Linked DNA regions of Homo sapiens: regions 2 and 3 are each linked to region 1. Evidence: promoter capture Hi-C in human tissues and cell types (Jung and others, 2019). All regions are on one chromosome and are shown on one strand. The core of a region is centred on a gene start or on the middle of the fragment in contact, and the rest is flanking DNA. Distances in the headings are between cores, read along the strand shown.

The links. Contacts are between HindIII fragments. The study calls those that stand out against the background at their distance.
Region 2: a contact is called between a fragment that was not itself captured here and the fragment with the promoter of SH3D19 in region 1, in 1 of the 25 tissues and cell types used here (dorsolateral prefrontal cortex).
Region 3: a fragment that was not itself captured here is called in contact with the fragment with the promoter of SH3D19 in region 1 in 1 of the 25 tissues and cell types used here (dorsolateral prefrontal cortex).

What each region holds. Positions count from the first base shown.
Region 1 is chr4:151,323,728-151,327,342 of GRCh38, forward strand. SH3D19 (SH3 domain containing 19) reads right to left here and starts at 1,878. Exons shown (of 20, transcript NM_001378122.1): 1 at 1,514-1,878. The coding sequence starts at 1,625. The HindIII fragment of the contact is 31,894 bases long and covers 370-3,615 here.
Region 2 is chr4:152,354,827-152,358,441 of GRCh38, forward strand. All of the region lies in intron 4 of FBXW7 (F-box and WD repeat domain containing 7), which reads right to left. Among named protein-coding and RNA genes, the nearest start is that of FBXW7-AS1, 19 kb to the left of the region's middle. The HindIII fragment of the contact is 5,495 bases long and covers 1-3,615 here.
Region 3 is chr4:152,324,760-152,328,374 of GRCh38, forward strand. FBXW7 (F-box and WD repeat domain containing 7) reads right to left here. Exons shown (of 14, transcript NM_001349798.2): 11 at 3,449-3,615; 12 at 1,247-1,472. Among named protein-coding and RNA genes, the nearest start is that of FBXW7-AS1, 11 kb to the right of the region's middle. The HindIII fragment of the contact is 8,165 bases long and covers 1-3,615 here.

The DNA.
Region 1 (3,615 bases), core at 628-3,127:
AGGGAACTGGTGAAAACTAATTACAAAATGTCATTTCCACCAGCTTTGGAATAAATACACATATTGCAACTAAATGATAAACACACATCTGGATCACATCTAGTCTGAACTCCAAAACAGGTCTTCACTGTACAGTCTCTTGTGAGAATGAAGCTTTCTGCTGAAGGTAACAGGAATCTAAGGTGGCCTACCCTGTTTAAATCCATAGGTCAGGCATGGCGGTATATCTTTGTAAAGTTTTTTCATTGTACTCTTGCAAGAAATATTCACTTATATCCAGCAACTATTCATTATTTCACAAGGTTTGGGTTTACACTGAACAAAATTACCAATTATGTTCAAAACTGGTGTTCATATAGACAGCCAAATGCCTTATTTTGATGAAAAGTTGTAATAATGAGCATGGAGAATTATTTTTATGTTCCAAGATTCTACCAAAGGCATTAAATTGACTATTTCTTCAAGATGTTCTTCTCAAGTTTTCCTTTCATCCTACTTTCTACCCTCCATTTGTTCCGCACAGATACAATATCTTCTCTATTTTTCCAACTTTCTCTTAGTGGTTAAGGGAGTCACACAGAAAAGCTTCTCCACTTCATGGAATATTCGCTATATTCCACTTTATAATGAGGCTCTCAGTGAATCGTTCTCCTCCGACTCTCTCACTTCCCTATCTCCCTTTTGTTGCCAGTCCCCCTAGGTTTGTTCTTCCCTCTTGTTTTCAGATAACTCGGATTACCCAGTTGGAACCAAAGGCCAAAGAATGTCCTCTCTATTATGTTTGATTGAAAAGCCGCCCGGAAGAGGGAAGGGGTGTGGATCTACACTTATTCACTCTTTCACTAATGTGCCAAACTATTTGATCCGTGCCGCTTTTGTGTACCCAAAACACAGTATCATAAAAGTAATTACAGGCCCGAAAATGATTCTCAGCCCAAATGAATGGCCTTTTGGAATGCTATATTCTGGACTTCTCTTTGCGTGGGGGAGGGTCTCACAACTAACGAAAACAAGTCCTACAGAAAACTGGTGAGCTCGGCGGCTGGGGGAGGGAGGGAGGGGGGTCACAGGTCCGAAGTGCAAGGGACGCCGAAACAGGACTTGCCTCAGTTATGAGCACGTGCTCTGACCTGGCTGCGGCGGCGCAGGCAAACCCCTCGGAAGGTGTCGTTGTCCACCGAGACGGCCATTGACCTCTGACTCATCCAGAGATAAGTCATCAACCAGGCCACAAGTCCCAAGCCAGCAGCTCCTGGATTTAGTGTGCACGGAAAATTTGAGTTTCAGCTGTACGACCACTAGCAGTTAAAGACGGGTCTGAATTTCCTCGGGCTCGGCCGGAAAGTGAGGATGGCGATGGAAATGCCACCCTCCCCGAGTCTGGCCTCTGAGAGTTAAAGAAGCCGGTCCCATCCCGGCGCGTGAAGGAGCTGCCGCTGTGTGGGGCAGGACCCGAGCGGCCCCAGAGCGCGCAGCTCTGGGTCCCCGCCGCCCCGTCCCCCGCGCCTCTCACCTGCGGCCGAGTGGCCCGAGAGCGCACGGCCCCGGGCGCGGCGCTGGCCACCAAGTTCGCGGCGCTCGCGTAGCTCTTCCTCCTCGTCCTCCCGCCGCCGGCCCTCAGCCATGGGCGAGGCGCGGGGCGCAGCCGCGGGATGGCCAGCGAGCTGCGGCCCCGGCGCCCCAGAACGCCTGCACCCGGCGCCCCACGCCACCGCCCTCGGGCCGGGGGGAAGGCGGCTCCCGGAGAGGAGGCGTCGGCGGCGGCTGTGGAAATGGCCACCTCCGCGAACTCCACCTGCAGCCGGCCGGGCAGCGGCAGGGCGCGGGCCGAGCCGATTCCCCGCCTCCTTGCGGCGTCCCGGCGGCCTCTTAATCCCTGGCCTTTCCCACTCCCACTCCCGCTCTCTTCCCCCTTCCTCTTTGCCTTCCCCGCCCCGTAGAGCTCCACCGCGGATCGGGCGGGTTCGGGGCTGGCCTCGCCTCCTCAGGGAGGGGTTATCGGCCCCTAAGGCCGCCCCACAGCCACACACGCTGGAAACACCAGCTCGACCCAAACAAACGTGTGCAAAATAAATAAACGGGATAGGAAGAGGGGAAAGAGGAGGTGGCCTGGCCTCTTCCTGCCTTTTCACGATATTCCAGTGTCAACAGGAAACCCATTTGTTTGACACTTAAACAAAAAGAGGAGGAACCCGACCGGGGCCGAACTGGGAGAGATGGGACAGCTGGGAGCTGCTGAACTTTGGAACAAACTTGGCTTGGAGTTGGGTCGAGCCTCTGCAATGCACACTTTTTTCTTTCCCTCTCTTTTCGCCCTTAAAAACCTAGACTTGCGGGAGCACAGAGGATTTTTAGGGCAGTGAAACTACTATGCGTATGATTCTGTAATAGCGGATGCCTTTGTCCAAGCCCAAAGAATGTACAAAACCAAGAGTGAACCGCAATGTAAACTATAGACTTTGGGTGATTATGAGGTGTCAATGTGGGTTCATCAATTGTAGCAACTGTGGCACTCTGGTGGGGGATGTTGATAATGGGGGAGGCTATGCATGTGTGGGAGCAGGGGGTACATGGGAAATCTCTGTACCTTTAGCTCAATTTTGCTGTGAACCTAAAACTGTTCTTAAAAATAGTCTAGTAAGACTGGAAGCGGTGGCTCATGCCTGTAATCCCAGCCCTTTGGGAGGTCGAGGCGGGCAGATCACGAGGTCAGGATATCGAGACCATCCTGGCTAACACGGTGAAACCCCGTCTTTACTAAAAATACAAAAAAAAAAAAAAATAGCCAGGCGTGGTGGCGGGCGCCTGTAGTCCCAGCTACTCGGGAGGCTGAGGCAAGAGACTGGCCTGAACCCAGGAGGCAGAGCTTGCAGTGAACGGAGATCGCACCACTGCACTCCAGCCTGGGCAACAGAGCGAGAGTCCTTCTCGAAAAAAAAAAAAAGTCTAATAAAAATGTTTAATAATAAATCAAGCCTCACTGTATTCCAGTTCATTTAGGGCTAGGATATGGCTACAATTCCTAGAAGAACAGGAAGAAATGTGTTAAAGAGACCCATACGTGATTATTTGTAGAGAGGCAACTAGGGGAAGTGGAGAGACCACTGGCTCTGGAGTCAGAAACTGTAATTTGAAGCACTTAGCTGTGTGAGCTACCCCTAAGAAAGTTTTTCAAAGCTGGAAAGAACCGTGTAACCAAAGTTGTGTGTACCTGCACAATACACATCTTAGGTTCAGTAGGTGCACGTACTTACTTTCACACAGAGAGGAAAAGATTCTGGAATTTCACCAAAAGATACCCAAGTAGCAGGCAGAAATATTACCTGGACATGAAACCTTAGGAAATTCCTGAGTGCGATGAACAGGCCTTTATCTTTGGCGTCTTGCTCTATTTCTGAGAGATTACCAAGAGCTCCTAATGTTCAGCAAGTAGGAGAGAAAAAGAAAGGGAGAAAAGGGTCACTGAAAATAGAATTGCCTGCCACACCTGAGTGCTGTTTCTTTGCCTTTTCAATAGTGGCTGTTGCCGCCTGAGAAAATCTTTCCGCTTTTAAGCAGATAAGAACCACAATCGATTCTGTGGAATTGAGGTCAAATCCACAAGTTAAAACTTTA
Region 2 (3,615 bases), core at 350-2,849, 1.0 Mb after region 1:
AAACATCAAAATGATATACAAAAAATTCTACACTGAGAAGTCTTTCTACTACCACATATCCTCCATCTACCATGGTTCCCATTTGGGAATGATTTTTATTGTTTATCCTTTAAGTGAGAAATGCGAATGTTTATAAGTACTAATGAAGACCTTGTCTTCCCAAGTATTTAAACAATTCTCCCTAATATCTTATGATGTTAATTTGAACTGTGAAGAATCTGTCAAGCAAAACTAGTCAACTAAGCTTCTAACTGAATTTCAAATTAACAGAATAAAAATGATTTTCAACATTCTCTGACGTACTATCAATGAAAACTGTGATCTATTATATTACTGTCATCATAATCTTAATATGAACAAAGCAAATAAAATCACTTGCATTTCTATTTATACCACTCGGCTAAAATATAGTTTGAAACTTTATTCAGATTTAAGTTTTTGGTAATATAATATTTAAAAATTTTTATGGGTTTGTGTCTGTATTTATCTATCTTATCTCTGTGACAAGAAACATTTTAAACTTTAGATCAGTCTATTATCTATGTTAAATAAGTTTTTTTAAAGTATTTTATGCCTTACACTAAAATATTAAGTAGTAAGTTCACAGGAAAGAAGGTCAACCAAATAGCTAAGAAACCAAATAGCTAAGTTAGTCAACCAAACAGCTAAGAAAATGTTTGTCATCTATATTTTTAGAATTACTATTTCACTATATTAAATATATTTTCATTACAATAATTTTCATGGAATTTCAGCTAGGCACTCATTTCTCCCATTCTATAAAAAATTAATTCTTGTGTTGACTGACAACCTAGAAGCATTATTGAAATTCCATTAGCAAAGGGAATGACCAACAATAAGGTCCTGGAATAAAATCCATCTGCTAACTCAGACCCAATGCTCATCTCATCACAACTCCACTGTGCTAGGTGTAGAAGTGGAACTAGTGTGCTAGCATAGAAGTTAGAAGTAACGAGGAAAAAAAAACAACACAAATATATGATGATATGTTTGCCTCTGGGGAATGATGCCATAGAATCATTAACCCGTGAGCTCCTACCAGAGCTCTGAACAAATAATTGGGACGACTTAAGTTTTTAGAAGGGCAAGTTGTGGTTGTGAGCAGAAAGAAAAAATAGTGTATATACAGTGAGAAAAATATACACAAATGGTCTTAAGCGAATCATGTATCTTCAGAGAAATACTTATCTTTACATATAATGTCAACATAAAGGATGTAGTTAATAGAGTACTTTACCTCACCTTGACTCTCAAGAGTTCATTATTTCCGTCTTATATATAGTTCTATTACTGCAGTTATCATAGTTCATTGTCATTATTTTTATACATCTTTCTCCCCTATCTCCTCCCTAAAGATTCACATCTTACTCAAATTTATTTCTAGGGCATCCAGAAAATGATACAAAACAAATAATTAATATTTTTGAATTGGCCATACAAGCAAATATCAGAAACCACAGCATTATTTTTCTAAAGCTTAAACATATATTACAATCAGTACTAAAAAGTTTAACTCAACTAAAAAGTTTATAATTAGTGGAAAATACTATGAATACTATTAGTTCTTTTCTTTACCTTGCTAACATTTAAAAATACACTTCCATTTTATAATAGTAGGAGAATGTGTTTATATTCCTATGTCAGTGATTTTATTATTATCATGACAACACTTTGTACTCTAGAAAGGACTAGGAAACCACCACAGTTAGCTGTCTTGCCCTGAGCACAGAATTTAGATTACAGACAGTTCAAAATTACAGACAGTTCAAAATTTCAACATCAATGAAAGGAATGCCAAGCATGTTGAGACTGAAATACTTTTTGAAATTTCACTAACTCACTGTCATTAACTTTCTGGGATGTGAGTGCTTATTAAAAGGTTTGCTTATTAAAACTGGCAAACTAATAAACCTGTTCTATTACAGATATCAACTGGAATAGTATATATGCCCAGCATTTACATTTTCACTAACACAAATAGGTGGCAGTATTGGCCAATAAGCAATTTTCCATATTTATTCATTCAGTAAGCATTTGTTTAGCACCTACTTTGTGTTGGGCACAGAATATTATATACATCAATTGAAACTTTGTTCTTTCTCCATTGGAAATACAGTCAATTAACACAAGAGCATAGTGTAACGTAATATACACAAACATCTGACTGTTAGAACTCATACTGAAATTAGTTCTAAAAAATTTTTGAGAACATGTAAAATAAAACAAGATGAGCCAGCTTTAGTTCAAAACTACCATCTAAGTAAACAAATACTGTGACACTAGTGCCTTAGAAAAAAATCCCAAACACTAAACACTGTAATAGATAATCTTACTTTACTTAAACTTATTTTTTGGGGGGAAGGGGATGTTTATAATATATATAATCCAAACCTTTGTAAATCAAGCTGCAAATCAAAATGTTATAGCTGACTGCTTTTAAATAAATTTTAATATAATTACAGAAGTAGTAGTTTTTTCTTTTTTTTTTTTAAAGACATAGTCATACTCTGTTGCCCATGCTAGAGTGCAGTGGCGCAATCTCGGCTCATTGCAACCTCCACTTCCTGGGTTCAAGAGGTTCTCATGACTCAGCCTCCCAAGTAGCTGGGATTACAGTCGTGTGCCACCACACCCCACTAATTTTTCTATTTTTAGTAGAGATGGGGTTTCACCATGTTGGCCAGGCTAGTCTCGAACTCCTGGCCTCAAGTAATCCGCCCGCCTCAGCCTCCCAAGGTGCTGGGATTACAGGGGTAAGCCACCGTGCCTGGCCAGAAGTTTTAATTCTTGAAGTTTAAGCTATTTAAAACTCTCCTTACAAAGACACAGCCTCTGATTAGTGTGACACACTAATCAACTGCAGTATTAGTTCCAACAGTGTAAGTTTTTTCATTCCTTCAGATTGGGCCAAATTAGTCATCTGATGGACACATGCACAAATGTATTTATCTACAAATATATAAATATACACACATACATAATTCATACCCAATAGTGCAAGTTAAGAGTTCTATTTATGCCAGCCACAGAATAAAATAATATGGGGGTTTTATTCGCTCCTCTAAAATTTATATTGTTACAGAGCTGTCAGACTAATACTAAGTCAACATCCTCTACTTTTTCACAGACAGCCGGCATCAGTGCAATAATTTGACAACAAAGTTAGCAAGTCACCCTGGAGTTTACTGATTTATCCAGAAAGCAATGAATCTTTCATGCTTAAAATCCAAAATAAACTACCAATAAGCATTTGGAATTCATAAGTTTCCTCTCAAAATTTTATTGTGAATTTCTTATAGTAATACCTTCAGTAAAGTAAGACAGATATCATGGAAAAAAAGTATAAAATGTAAGTTTGACTTCAAGAAAAATGAAACCACAAATATGACCCAGGAAAGAATTTAACATGGAGAAAGAATGAAATCAAATTTCCCTCAATATAAGGCCTAAACCCTATTCACTCTTCTGCTTTCTTTACACAAATCCATATTTATTGCTGCTGTTTGTGATTTTCAAATATATTTGCCTGACTTGAGAAGAATTTCCCATAGGTGTGATATATTAATCTTGTATTCATTTCAAGAACTGTTTAAA
Region 3 (3,615 bases), core at 440-2,939, 1.0 Mb after region 1:
CCACTAGGAAGCTGAGACTAATGACATAGCTTATGATAAACGGAATGCTTATCAGCACCTAAGGCATGAAAAGGGCTAGAGATAACTTTCGTGATGTTCAAAAGTAAGTTCCATTAAAAACTGTGTGTAAAATAAAATTTCATTTATAAGAACCTAATGCTAATTAGGAAATGTGCCAAAAGATAATTGTATCTGGAATCAGAAGAGGTGGCATTTTGAAATCAAAAGCAAACTACATACTACCTCTTCTCCAGCTTCCCAGCTACACCAAAAGTCAATAACAGTCTATCATTTCTAAACAATAATGTGGCTACCTCTTTTCTCAATCAAACAGTTTATTTAAATTAGAATATTATATTCATTAAGCTTCTGAACATATCAGAAACAGGTGCAGCCAATTCCCCTTCCTCCAAATTCATCACCTTTTCTAATTTAGCAAACATTTTTATCATATTGTCAATATTTCATGACATGGACAATATCCCTTTGACAAAGAAACAAATATCCTAAGAACAGAATTGACAGTACTAAGATTATGTACTAATTTGCTGAACATTAATGGGTAATAACTGGTAAATAAACTATATAAGCTATAGGAAATATTTTTACATTAAAAATGTTGCCTTTCTGGAAATAAAACAAGATTCATATTCTAAACTTCCTATTCATCTAGTTAATGATCTCAAAATATGGCAATGTTTTCAAGGATATGGGCTTGAAATATAAACCAAAAAAAAGAAATCGGTTTAGTCAACTTTACTTCTTTATGACTACAAATCAGTGGGCCTGGGACAGTAGAGTGCTTTATGCAGAAAGGATCTATTTCCACTTTGAATGGGGATGGAATCACAATTACATGGTCCATCAACTTTCAGCTATCAAAGCAAAGGGGCAGCTTTTGGCCATATTAATCTTCTGCAAAGGAGTTTCTTAAAATCCAGGTTACTCTCCTATGAGACTATTTAACCATTAATTAACATAGCAAAACTTAGAGCCCCAAAGTGTCAGGTTGCAAAACAAATATTTGTATTTAGAGGAGAAATAGATCACAGAAAATTGAAAGCATTTAAATAATTTTGAAATTTACACTTTCTTCATGCCAATTTTAACGTATATAAAAACAGCAGAATAATCTGATTAATCTTTTTTGGACTGTACTGGATCAGCAATTTGACAGTGATTATCTGAGTAAAACAACCTTATGATTCATCAGGAGAGCATTTAAGGGAGAGATAAGAGATCTTACCTGTAATGAATAGACTCTATTAGTATGCCCCTGCAACGTGTGTAGACAGGTTTCAGTCTCTGGATCCCACACCTTTACCATAAAATCATATGCTCCACTAACAACCCTCCTGCCATCATATTGAACACAGCGGACTGCTGCAACATGACCCATCAAAACATGTAAACACTGGCCTGTCTCAATATCCCAAACCCTAAGAGTGGCATCTCGAGAACCGCTAACAACTCTGCAGAGGGAGAAACAGAAAAACAAAACAAAACAAAAAAACCCACGTTTAGAATTTTTAATAATATGAGAAAACATGGTAGATTTAGTCAAGGTTTTTTAGCTTTTTTTTTTTTTTTTTTACACAGCAACAACCATTTTCAAAAGAAATCCTATGTAAAACCTTGGTATATAAACATAATAAGGGAATGGGAAGTTGGGAAGCCTAGAATGCTGCATGCTTGGTTCCCTGACCTGGGGACCTTAGGTTCAGCACCTTAAGGTTCTGTGGGACTGAGTTTGAAAACCACTGTACTGTATTTTTTAAAAAGCAGCAGAAGCTGCCTCTAAATATATACAATAAGATTTTGATTTTAGAAATAAAATGTTAATGTGGGCATATGTATAAAATGTTAATGGGAGAACTCTAGGTGGTAGTGGTTTAAAGAATTTAAATTTTCTTTATGTTCTTTGCCATTTTCCAAAATTTCAATTATGAATGCATATATTCCCTTGTGATTAGGTAAAAAATTCAATAAAGTTTATACAACAAAACAAGTCAGAATTTGGAATTTAAACAGCTGCAGATTTGTGTTTACACTATACATTCCAGTAAAAATTAACCAGTTTTAGACATGTCCTCAAACACAGGCTGCTTATGCTTTTAATGATTAGATTTATAAATATGCAATAGGCTATAAAAATATTAAGAGATAAAGATTTTAAAAGATATGTACATCTTTAAAAACAATGGCTATCCCTTAAACATTTGGTTCAACATCAGCGCTATACTCTTCTGAAAACCAGAGCAATATACAAATACTGTAATCACTTTTGGATTACAAAACAAAGCTGAAAACTCAGGTATCCTTATGTCATTCTGAAGAGATAAAGAAATACCACAGTTTCCATATTTTAAAAAAGTAGATAATTAAAGGGTTGAGAGAACCCTTTAATTGAGAACCTAATGTTGAGAGAACATAATGGAAACTGGAATACAAGGTCTCTTGATACTCATCCCCCAAATTTTAACAGTATAGCACACTGTTCAAAGTAGAGGTAAATGACAATTGAAAAGGTACTCCTTTTCACATATTACAAATCTGGTGTGAAATCTGCTTAATGTAATTGTTCTTAATAAAGAAGATGCGATAGACAGAATTAAAGGTAAAGACTGCCATGGATTCACTGTAAGGACCTTTCAGAGAGACCTTTTTTGACAAATGAGGTAGAAATCACACTTGTTTAACAGGGGTATGATGACGATAATAGAAAGATAGGATTTTAATAGGAGGGCTTTACAGGAGGAGATAAAAGCAACAGCAAAGGCACTGAGAAGAGAAAGTCAAAAAGTCCAGTTTGGCAGAAACCATTTTGAAAACTGGATCGAGGATTTCTTCCTTAATTCGTTAGTCAACAGTAGGCTCAAAAAGACTTAAGAACTGGGCAGTGACACTATCATAATTATAAAAGGACTATATGTCAGCTGTATAAAACATAAGATAACCAAGTTAGAAAGCTGTGACAATAGTTCAGAATGAGAGAACAAATTACCCACAGGCCTCAGCTTTTGCCTAGACTTAGAGATAGGGTGGGTGTAAGGTGGGTAGGTAATTTAAAAAGGCTCAGACGCTTGAAGCCTGAATTTGTCCCACTTGCGGAAATAAGAATATCAAAAAAAGAGAGAGAAAACATGATTTCTGCTTGAATATGATGAGTCATCAAAGATACAGAACAACAAAAAGGATTAGAGATTAGAGAGTAGAGAGTTTCAAACAGGAAGCTGACAACACTAGCAAATGAGAAAGGAAATTTACAGACAATCACCAATTTTAAGACAAAACGCTATGGCTTTCCTAGAATAGAAACATCTGAAGTGTAATAATTAAATCTAATTTAAGAGCACACTGTCACTATTTCAGTAACTCTACACAGAAAGGGCCCAAATTCACCAATAATAGAGGAAGAAGTCCCAACCATGACAAGATTTTCCCTTACCTTTTTTCATGAAGATGCATACAACGCACAGTGGAAGTATGCCCATATAAGGTGTGTATACATTCTCCAGTCTCTGCATTCCACACTTTGAGTGTCCGATCTGTAGATCCACTAATGATGATGTTGTCTCTCATTTGTGATGACCATACTCCACCTGTATGTCCCAC